Regions from separate parts of the Homo sapiens genome. Here regions 1 and 3 are each linked to region 2. The links are contacts of gene promoters, found by promoter capture Hi-C in blood cells and fetal thymus (Javierre and others, 2016). All regions are on one chromosome and are shown on one strand. The core of a region is centred on a gene start or on the middle of the fragment in contact, and the rest is flanking DNA. Distances in the headings are between cores, read along the strand shown. Region 1 overlaps LINC00880 (long intergenic non-protein coding RNA 880). Region 2 holds the start of KCNAB1-AS1 (KCNAB1 antisense RNA 1). Region 3 has its middle 11 kb from the start of LINC02029.

The links. Contacts are between HindIII fragments. The CHiCAGO score rates a contact against its expected background, and 5 or more counts as called.
Region 1: a fragment that was not itself captured here is called in contact with the fragment with the promoter of KCNAB1-AS1 in region 2 in 1 of 17 cell types (non-activated CD4 T cells); the score reaches 5.4 in non-activated CD4 T cells.
Region 3: a fragment that was not itself captured here is called in contact with the fragment with the promoter of KCNAB1-AS1 in region 2 in 3 of 17 cell types (naive CD4 T cells, monocytes and total CD4 T cells); the score reaches 6.1 in naive CD4 T cells.

The regions. Positions count from the first base shown.
Region 1 is chr3:157,091,570-157,094,511 of GRCh38, forward strand. All of the region lies in intron 3 of LINC00880 (long intergenic non-protein coding RNA 880), which reads right to left. All of the region lies in intron 1 of LINC00881 (long intergenic non-protein coding RNA 881), which reads left to right. Among named protein-coding and RNA genes, the nearest start is that of LINC00881, 3.2 kb to the left of the region's middle. The HindIII fragment of the contact is 1,534 bases long and covers 644-2,177 here.
Region 2 is chr3:156,445,217-156,448,207 of GRCh38, forward strand. It overlaps KCNAB1-AS1 (KCNAB1 antisense RNA 1), which reads right to left and starts at 1,720. Exons shown (of 3, transcript NR_046618.2): 1 at 1,569-1,720; 2 at 818-880. The region is part of intron 2 of KCNAB1 (potassium voltage-gated channel subfamily A regulatory beta subunit 1); the gene reads left to right. The HindIII fragment of the contact is 8,289 bases long and covers 1-2,991 here.
Region 3 is chr3:157,069,738-157,072,752 of GRCh38, forward strand. No RefSeq gene overlaps it. Among named protein-coding and RNA genes, the nearest start is that of LINC02029, 11 kb to the right of the region's middle. The HindIII fragment of the contact is 2,722 bases long and covers 254-2,975 here.

The sequences.
Region 1 (2,942 bases), core at 161-2,660, 650 kb after region 2:
TCTAACCCTGGCAGTAATCTTACCATCAAATGCATTTAATCAGACCCATTTGCATGTGGAGCTGTGCCCAGTGCTATTCAAATAATGTGAAATGGATACTGTTATTACCATGTCAGTCAGGACTATGGGTAGCAAGTGACTGAAACCCAGCTCTAACCACGGGATCCATGGGTTTGCTAAAAACTGGGTAGACTGGCTTTAGGCCCAGTTAGATTTCAGGTGCTTTAAAGGTGTTGTCATGTATGATAGGCATAATGTTTTGAAATTATCAATGTAGTTTTCTCTTTTGCCTTTCAAAGCATATGAACTTAGTCTACTCTAGGCATTTATCTGCCTAGGAAGAAATGAAAGTTCTTTCCAGAAAGTATGCAAAGAGAAAGAAAACATAACACTCAGCTTCTGGCATTCAAAAATAAATTTTGTAGCAAGGCAATAGCCATGTAATTCAAGCCCTTACCTTGAGAAAATATCCTGTACATTCCATTACCTTCCTCTTCAGAGGGTCAAGAACTGAGCTTGGTAGACTAAACCTTAGGGTTTTATATTCGAAAGGTCTAGACCAGGAGAAAGTGGGGATTATCAGAGGACAGAAGTAGCAGAATAAACAAGAGGCCTGAGTGGAGAGATTGTATTGGAAAAGTAAAGCTTAACCACAAAGGCAGAGGGAGATCGTTCCCCCACGCCCCCTCCAGAATTATGAGAGGAAGAGCCCAGTGTTGGTCGGGTAGCAGCAGGCCCTGCTATGGACTTTTCAAGCTCTGTCAGGTCCCTGGGAAGGCTAGATTCTACCCAGACATAGCAGAAAGCCTGTAGCCAGCTTGCCAGAGGTGATCATTGTAGTGAGGTGACTCAGTGGTTTGGGCTGCCGAGGAGACCCCTGGGACCAGGGTTGATAGGAAGTCATGGACAGAAGTCGGAGTCTGTAGCAGCAGGAAAAGCAGAGAAGGAGCTAAGCCAGTCAGGAAACACCTTTGGGAGCACTGCTTCAGATCACCTCAGATGGACACAAGCTCCCCATCCACAGACCCCCACATCAGAGGCTTGCAGTGCACCCAGGACAGACAAAAAGTGGATGTTGTCTCAAAATAATCACATACAAGGCAGCTATGCTCAAGGACCAGTACAAGGACAAAAGTTCCCTTCCTCTCAACACCATGAGGACACAGAAAAGACACACACCACCATACTACCTCCACCCCAGCACACCCTACCTGGATGACGATCAAAACATTTAAAAATCCTTACAGGCTCAGGCGCTGAGGAGTATAAATGGAGATGTCTTACTATGTCCAGAGTTAACCCTTTAGTTGATGGATTATGAGGAGCAGGGACCTCAGGGCAGAACCTGTTTACCAACTGCTCCATGCATACTTTAGTATTTTATCAATGAGGGCAGCCATAATGCCATGTACCTGTTGAATATTGGCCATGCATCCAGATGGCATCTTTATAGGAGGGGAAGGAGAAAGAGGAAGCCATCTGAGAAAGCGAGCATGTTCTCAATGGGGATATTGAATTATTGGATTGAATCAAGATTTAAACCCTAACTAGTGAAGGACCAGACTGGTTATGGACAAACTAGAGAAATTACATTTTATTGGCACATCCAAGTTGCAGTATGAGTTGAATTTACCATCTGTCAGCTTTCTTTGTGTTAGTTTCACTCTCAGGTAGAAGCTCCAAGCATCAGCATACCAAAGGGCAAAGAATCTCTTTCTTAATAGTGCCTGCAAAATCCCAGTCAGGCTCACATTGGCTTAGCTTTGGTAATGTACCCATCTCTGAACCAAGCCCTGATTGGCCAAGCCCAGGTCACATAACTATTCCTAGCGTCATGAACTGAAAGTGGAGTGAGAGGTGGCTCCCCTAAAGAAAATCAAAAGGCTGTGAGCAGAAAAATGGGGTAATGAATGTTGGGTAGGCAGGCACAACAGATAGAACCACTATTGCCTTCTGGAGTTTAACTCTCTAAAACTCAGAAAGCACAGTATCTCCATGGCAGGAAATGAATTGGCACCTGAGCACTTATTCATACATCGATCAGTGTAGAAAACTAACTTTGAAAATCATAAAGCAGATTTATTTTTCCCTCTTAAATTTTCTTCCCACACTGATTAAATTAATTTTAATAATTAGAGTTGGGAAATATAATCAACTAAATATCTAGTATAGTTTAAAGCTTGGTATAAGCTATAAATAGTTCCACTTAGGAAATGCTCAGTCTCCCTTTTTATTGATGTGAAGACAATAACTGTTTTACTTTTTCTCTGTGTATTATTTTCTCTTTTTTAAGAATCACCTTCTTGTTGGGCATGGTAGCTCACACCTGTAATCCCAGCTACTTGAGAGGCTGAGGCAGGAGGATTGCTTGAGCCCAGGAGTTAGGGGCTGCAGTGAGCTATGATTGCACCACTGCAGTCCAGTGACAGAGAAAGACTCTGTCTCTACAAAAAGAAAGAAAAAAAAAACCATAGAATCAACTTCTCCTAAATCCAAGATGAACTGCACAATTAATTTATTGCCTATTTTTAAAAAAGGTTTTTGTAATAAACAAAAGTTAATTATTCCAGATACAAAGAGATCGTAATGGCAGCATCAGCTTTTCTTCACAGACTCTTATTTTCAATGTCACAAAACACTTCCACATAAATTTTTAAATCCACATGATTTTAAAATCAGCCCTAAGTAAAAGGAGATATTTAAAGTCTAGAAAAAGGAAACATAGTCATCAGTTTTACTCCAAAATTTATGCTGTCTTTTGGAAAGAATATTGTTTCATAAAGGATATCTTGATATTTACAATATATAAAACTTAAATCTCAGAATTGAAAAACTCTTTGGGAAAAAAAGTATTAATCATAATAAAGGAAATAAACTCATCATCCTCTAGTGTCTGAGTCACATAATTAATTCAGAAGGGGCTGGCTTTCTCTGCATGTGGG
Region 2 (2,991 bases), core at 470-2,969:
ACCTGGGAGGCGGAAGTTGCAGTGAGCCCAGATTGTGCCACTGCACTCAGGCCTGGGTGACAGAGCGAGACTCTGTCTCTGAAACAAAAACCAAAACAAAGCACAAAGGAAAAGGATGAGATGCTACCGGTATGAGAAGAATATAAACTGTGGTTCTCAACCCTGACTGCAATTAGAGTTATCTGAGGATCTTTTAAAAATACTGATGCCAGGATTCCACTCCCAGAAATTCTGATTTCACTGGGGTGTGGTGAGGAATCAGGTCAGCAATACCATTTATATCCCCCCAGGATATTCAAATGCGCAGTTGTGGTTAAAAACCTCTTGTTGAAGATAGTGAGGAAAACAACCAACGTTCCACAAATGCTCTCTGGTTAGAGACACTTTCTTAGTAAGGGTGAGAATGCTTACTGATTGAACAAGCAATTATTACTCACTTACCCTGTGCCAGGCTCCAGTGCAATGGCTAAAATTTAAAATTTAAATTAAACTTAAACTTAGTCCCTGATCTCAGGATAGTTGCAGTCTAATGAGGAAGTCACAGCCAAAAATAAACTATGCGGTTACAATATAGTGTGGTCAATATGGTAATAGCAGTTAGTTCAAAATGGTAGGAGAAGAGTAAATGGAATGACTTCTTCTCCTTTCAAAGAAACCATAGAATCATGAAATAATAGAGATGAAGGAAGCTCAAGGTTCCTAATTTTGTGCATAAGGAAACAAGAAATCAAGAGATTGGAGGTTTCTCAGAGTCACAGAGTTAATGCAAGAGAACCTAAAAAATTCTAATGATGTAGCAAGACATACTTTAACTCACCAGGGGAAGTGCTAAGAAACTATGGCTTAGCAGCACTGGACTCTGAAGCTGGAGTTCTGGGTCCTGAAAAATAAGTAGAATTTGGACATAAAGGCATGGGGAAGGTTTAGATTTTCAGTGGAAGGCTCAGCCCATAGCTCAAAGGAGAACATGCTCACCAGGGTAATGACCTGGAGCTTAAGGATCTCAGGTGGTGGCCAACAGCTTAGGGCTCCCTCCTCCACATCAACTCTAGTTTTGGGCTTACACCTATTTCTTGCTGGATACGCAATTTAGAGGGATGCTCCCACCTCCAGTTCCACTCCTCTTTGGGGGTTATACTATACAACTGAGACATTGAACATGTTAATTTTACCTGGTGTATTGCTTAATTTCAATGTGACCTAGGGTTTGAACCTCTTATCTTAAATTCTTTAGTGACGTAACAGATTAACACCTCAAAATAGATGAAATGTCTCTCAATTATGACTACATTTGGTCAGTCTTGACTATATTAAGCTGCAGTTCACATGTGCTCTGTTTACCAAACTTAAAATCATTAAATCTATATTGAAATGTGTTGAATTGGCTCTCCATTCTCCCCATACTCTGACCTTGGTGTTCTCCTAGAGGTTTCACCTTCTCTCACACCCTACACATCCTTTTACACCAGTAAATACTATTGCTTCCCCTTCAAAATTTATCCAAAATTCAACCACTCCTCGCCATCCTCACTACCACCACCTTGGACCAAACCACTGTCATGTCTCACCTGGATTATGGGAACAGCCTCCTAACTGGTCCCCCATGTTTCAGCCTCGCCTCTGCAGTCTATCCTTAGCACAATAGCAGAGTGTTCCTTTTAAAAGAAAGTCAGATTGTGTCACTTCTGTATTCAAAATTATTCACTAGCCTTTCCTAGGTCCTTCCTATGATTGACATGACATGATCTGGCCCCCATGAACCTCACCTTCTCTTCTCTGGCCACACTGGCTTCCTCCTTGTCCTTGCTCATGTTGAGCAAGCCCCTACCTCACTGCTCCCTGCAACTGGAACACTCTCCCTCCAGATAAGCGCCTGGTGAGCCCCTTCACTTTCTTTAGGTCTTTTCTTGAAAGCTCCTTTCTTAGTGAATCTTATCTGGCCACCCTATCTAAAATTTCAATACTGATTCCTAGACATTTCATATACTCTATCCCTGCTTTATAAAATTGATTCTCTAACATTCATCAGTCAACATTATGTATTTTATTTTACATTTTATTTATTTGTAAAATTAACATTTATAAACACTATATATTTAACTTATTTTTGTTATTCCTTTTTCTTTACCCATATATCTGTTTCACGATGGGAGAAATAATTACCAGTTTTGTTCACTGTTGCATCCCAATAAACTAAGTACAACACCTGGCACACGGTAGACTCAATAAATACTTGTTGAATGAAAAAGTGAGGAAATGTTAACTGTGGCATAATAAATATTAATATTATAATTGCATTTACATATTCTCTTCTTGATAGCTATAATAATATATTCAAACCATAGGGAGACCAACCTGCACTATAGAATTTTATAACCTTAAGATGATTTAGACCCAAATTAAGGGACATTCTACAGAATACTTGATGAGTACTTTTAAAAGTGTCTACATCATGAAAGACAGGGAAAGACTGAGGAAGTGTCACATATTGGAGTGGATTAAGAAAACATACAATTAAATGCAATGTTGGATGCTGCTTAAGATCCTGGAAGAGAAAAAAAGACAATGAAATTCCAAAAAGATCTATTGTATTAGTACTGTACCCATGTTAATTCCCTGGTTTTGATAATTGCACTATGGTGATGTAAGATATTAAAATGATCTCATCTAAATGTCTAAATATCCTTTATACTCCAAGCAAGGCAGTCATTTAAATGGTAAACATGTTTTTTGAATGAGTACGCAAGAAGTAATTACCCTGATAATCACCAAACGATAATGAGGTAACCAAGATAGATGTGTGTGGTGGGCAGTTTTCTTCTTTTTACCTTTCATCCATCATTTTTCTGTGCTATGGTAGATTTACTCCAAGGAACCTAACACAGGTTTTCAAAGCAAATATTCCTTGGTCCATAAAGGGGTTTAATCAGAAGACACAAAATAGTTCAAAGAGTTATCTTTATACTCTCCCTTCTTTTAAAAGGTTAGAAA
Region 3 (3,015 bases), core at 365-2,864, 620 kb after region 2:
GACTTGGGGGTAGAGGGATACAGGCTTAAAGGGCAGTAGGAAGCCACCCAAGCTCAAGATTTATTGGAGGGCAGATTCTCATCTCTATACTGATTGAGTGACCCCAGCCAGTGAGATCTCCTGGAAGCAGATGTGGGGAACAGTTGTGATTGTTGTAAGTCAGAGGACAAAGTTCATCTGGAGAGAGCATCTGTCCAGGGAATCTCTGGAGACTGGAGCCACTGTAGGAAATTCGGGATTTCAACAGAGAAAAAGCTTCCCTTGGGTGTGGGCAGGCAGGGGATATCCCTGGGGATCTTGACCGTAAGTGACCACCAAGATGTGCTCCAACCCAGACTTCCCTGACTCTGGGCAGCCTGTGGACTCTCCTACCCTGGCTCAGAATCTCCGCCTTGGTTACAGTTCGAACTGAGATGACCTCTTGTTTCCCATCAAAAATGCACCCTTTTCCTCTCAACATCCCCAGTATGGGGCTCACTGCCACATCATTTGCCCCACTCCAGGGCAGGGCCCACCCGGGAAAAAGCCCTGGTTTTCTTTCTGAAGACCACCCTAGTTTATAATAGCAAATAAATATGGATTATTTTTCTCAGTACAAGTTCCTGGGTATGGGACTCAGAGAGTTGCTTTTGTCAGCTCATGAGATGGAGAAGGAAACAGTGTGGGGAAATCCCAAACCCTTGGCTACCCCATTTCCTAAAGTGAACTTTACCCCTGGCATCATTAAGTGACTTTAACAGCCTTGTACTTGCAAAGTGAACTAAAAAGGCAAATGTATAAAAATCAGGTCCTTTTGGGGGGATCACAGAAATGCTTTATGAGATCCTTTTACAGCTGCCAGTAATCATTTACTCACGTTTTGCTCAACACAGGGGAGGTCCTCTTCTGCTCAAAAGAAAGGCAACTTCCTATAAAACAGACTTGCGTAGAATCCTTGGCAGGGAGAAGAAAGCAGTGAGATCACTTCTAGGCATGGCTTCTGGGGACTGCTGATTTCCTTGACGATAATGCCAGTCAGGCCCATAGCAGTGCCTGGCAGCTGCTTCCCTCCCACACCAAAGAAGCCCAGGCCTCCTTAGGTTTACAGGCCCCTGGCCATGGGCTCTCTGTAGGAAGTTGGTTGTGTATTTGTTCTGGAAGTGAGCCCTTGGGGCCAATGCACCAGGCTATCACTGGTAATGTCTTCTTTGGAGCAAATTCAGGTAAACGACTCTGCTACATGTGGCCTTGTTAAAACAGACAGTTCTGCTCAGCACATTTCCCTGGACATTCTAACACTCGTCGTTACACAGGAGTGAGTAACCAAAGGCAAAAGGCATCCATGTTAGCACTTAAGGTCTGTTTCCACTTTGGGTTCCAGTCCCATGGCCTGTGTCCTTTTCCTCAGAAACTGTGGTCTCACGGGGTACCCTCTTCCTCAAGCTGATCCTGGCAAACAGATGTGGTGCCAACTCTGACCATTGCTCCTTGGAGTTGGAGGTACAGATTACTTGTCAGAATCTTGTGATGTCCTGAGTGGTCTGGGATGCCCCTGCTCAGAACTACCATTTCCTGAATGTTGACTCTTGCAAGGTGTTTACATATGTCATCTGACTTAGTCCTCGCAAGGATCCTGTGCTCATTTCACAAGAAAAAGTCTCCCTCTACCCAGGCAGTGTTCCCCCACATCTGGGCCAAGGAGCCTTACCCGAGGGTAAAACAAAGCTGAGGGGCAAGCAACCACACACCCCATGTTTGGTCTCAAGCACTGGCTGTTTCCTTACAAGTTTAATGTTTTTTAGGAAGATGCTACTTGAGGCCAGGAACAGTAGCTCATGCCTGTAATTCCAGCACTTTGGGAGGCCAAGGCAGGCAAATCAGTTGAGGCCAAGAGTTAGAGACCAGCCTGGCCAACATGGCAAAACCTCATCTCTACTAAAAATACAAAAATTAGCCGGGCGTGGTGGTGCACACCTGTAATCCCAGCTACCTGGGCAGCTGAAGCATAAGAATCAGTTGAACCTGGGAGGTGGAGGTTGCGGCGAGCTGAGATCACACCACTGCACTTCAGCCTGGGTGAGAGAGAGAGAGAGAGAGAGAGAAGAGAAGAGAGAAGAGAGAGGAGAGAGAGAGAGAAGAGAGAAGAGAGAGTAGAGAGAGAGAGAGAGATGACAGAGGAAAGAGAAAGAAGAGAGAAGAGACAGGACAGGAGAGAGAGAAGAGAGAGGAGAGAGAGAGAGGAGAGAGAGAGGAGTGAGAGAGACAGGAGTGAGAGAGAGAGGAGAGAGAGAGAAGAGAGAGGAGACAGAGAGAGAGAGGAGTGAGAGAGAGAGGAGAGAGAGAAAGAAAGAAAGAAAAGAAAAGAAAGAAAGGAAAAAAAGAGAGAAGAAGGGAGGGAGGAAGGGAAAGAAAGGAAGAAGGAAGAAAAAGAAAGAAAGAAAGAAAGAAAAGGAGGAGGAGGAAGGAAGGAAGGAGAGAAAGAAAGGAAGAAAGAGAGAGAGAGAAAGAAAAAGAAGGAAAGAAGGAAGGAAGGAAAGAAGGAAGGAAGGAAGGAAAGAAGGAAGGAAGGAGCTACTTGAAACTCTAGACCTCCTGGTGGGAAAGTGACACCAGGAGGTACCTTGGCTGTGGCTGGCCCAGGGTAGCAAACAGCCCAGGAGTGGGCACAGTGGGCTGTAGAAAACCCCACCAGTTGTGCTATGAATTCTGCTTTTATTTTTCTGAAAGAAACTGAAAATCCTGGGTTTTTGTTTTGGTTTGGGGTTTTTTGTTTTTGTTTTTGAGACAGGGTCTCACTCTCTTACCCAGGCTGGAGTGCAGTGGTGCAATCATGGCTCACTGCAGCCTTGAACTCCTGGGCTCAAACGATCCTCCCACCTCAGCCTCCCAAGTGGCTGGGACTACAGGTGTGCACCACACCTGGCTCAGGGTTTGTTTAATGGGAAAATCTTACAGTTTTAAATGTTGGCAATTTATTTAAAAAACAAACAAAACAAAGCTTGCTTAACACTCTGCAGATGAAACAACATACTTGTG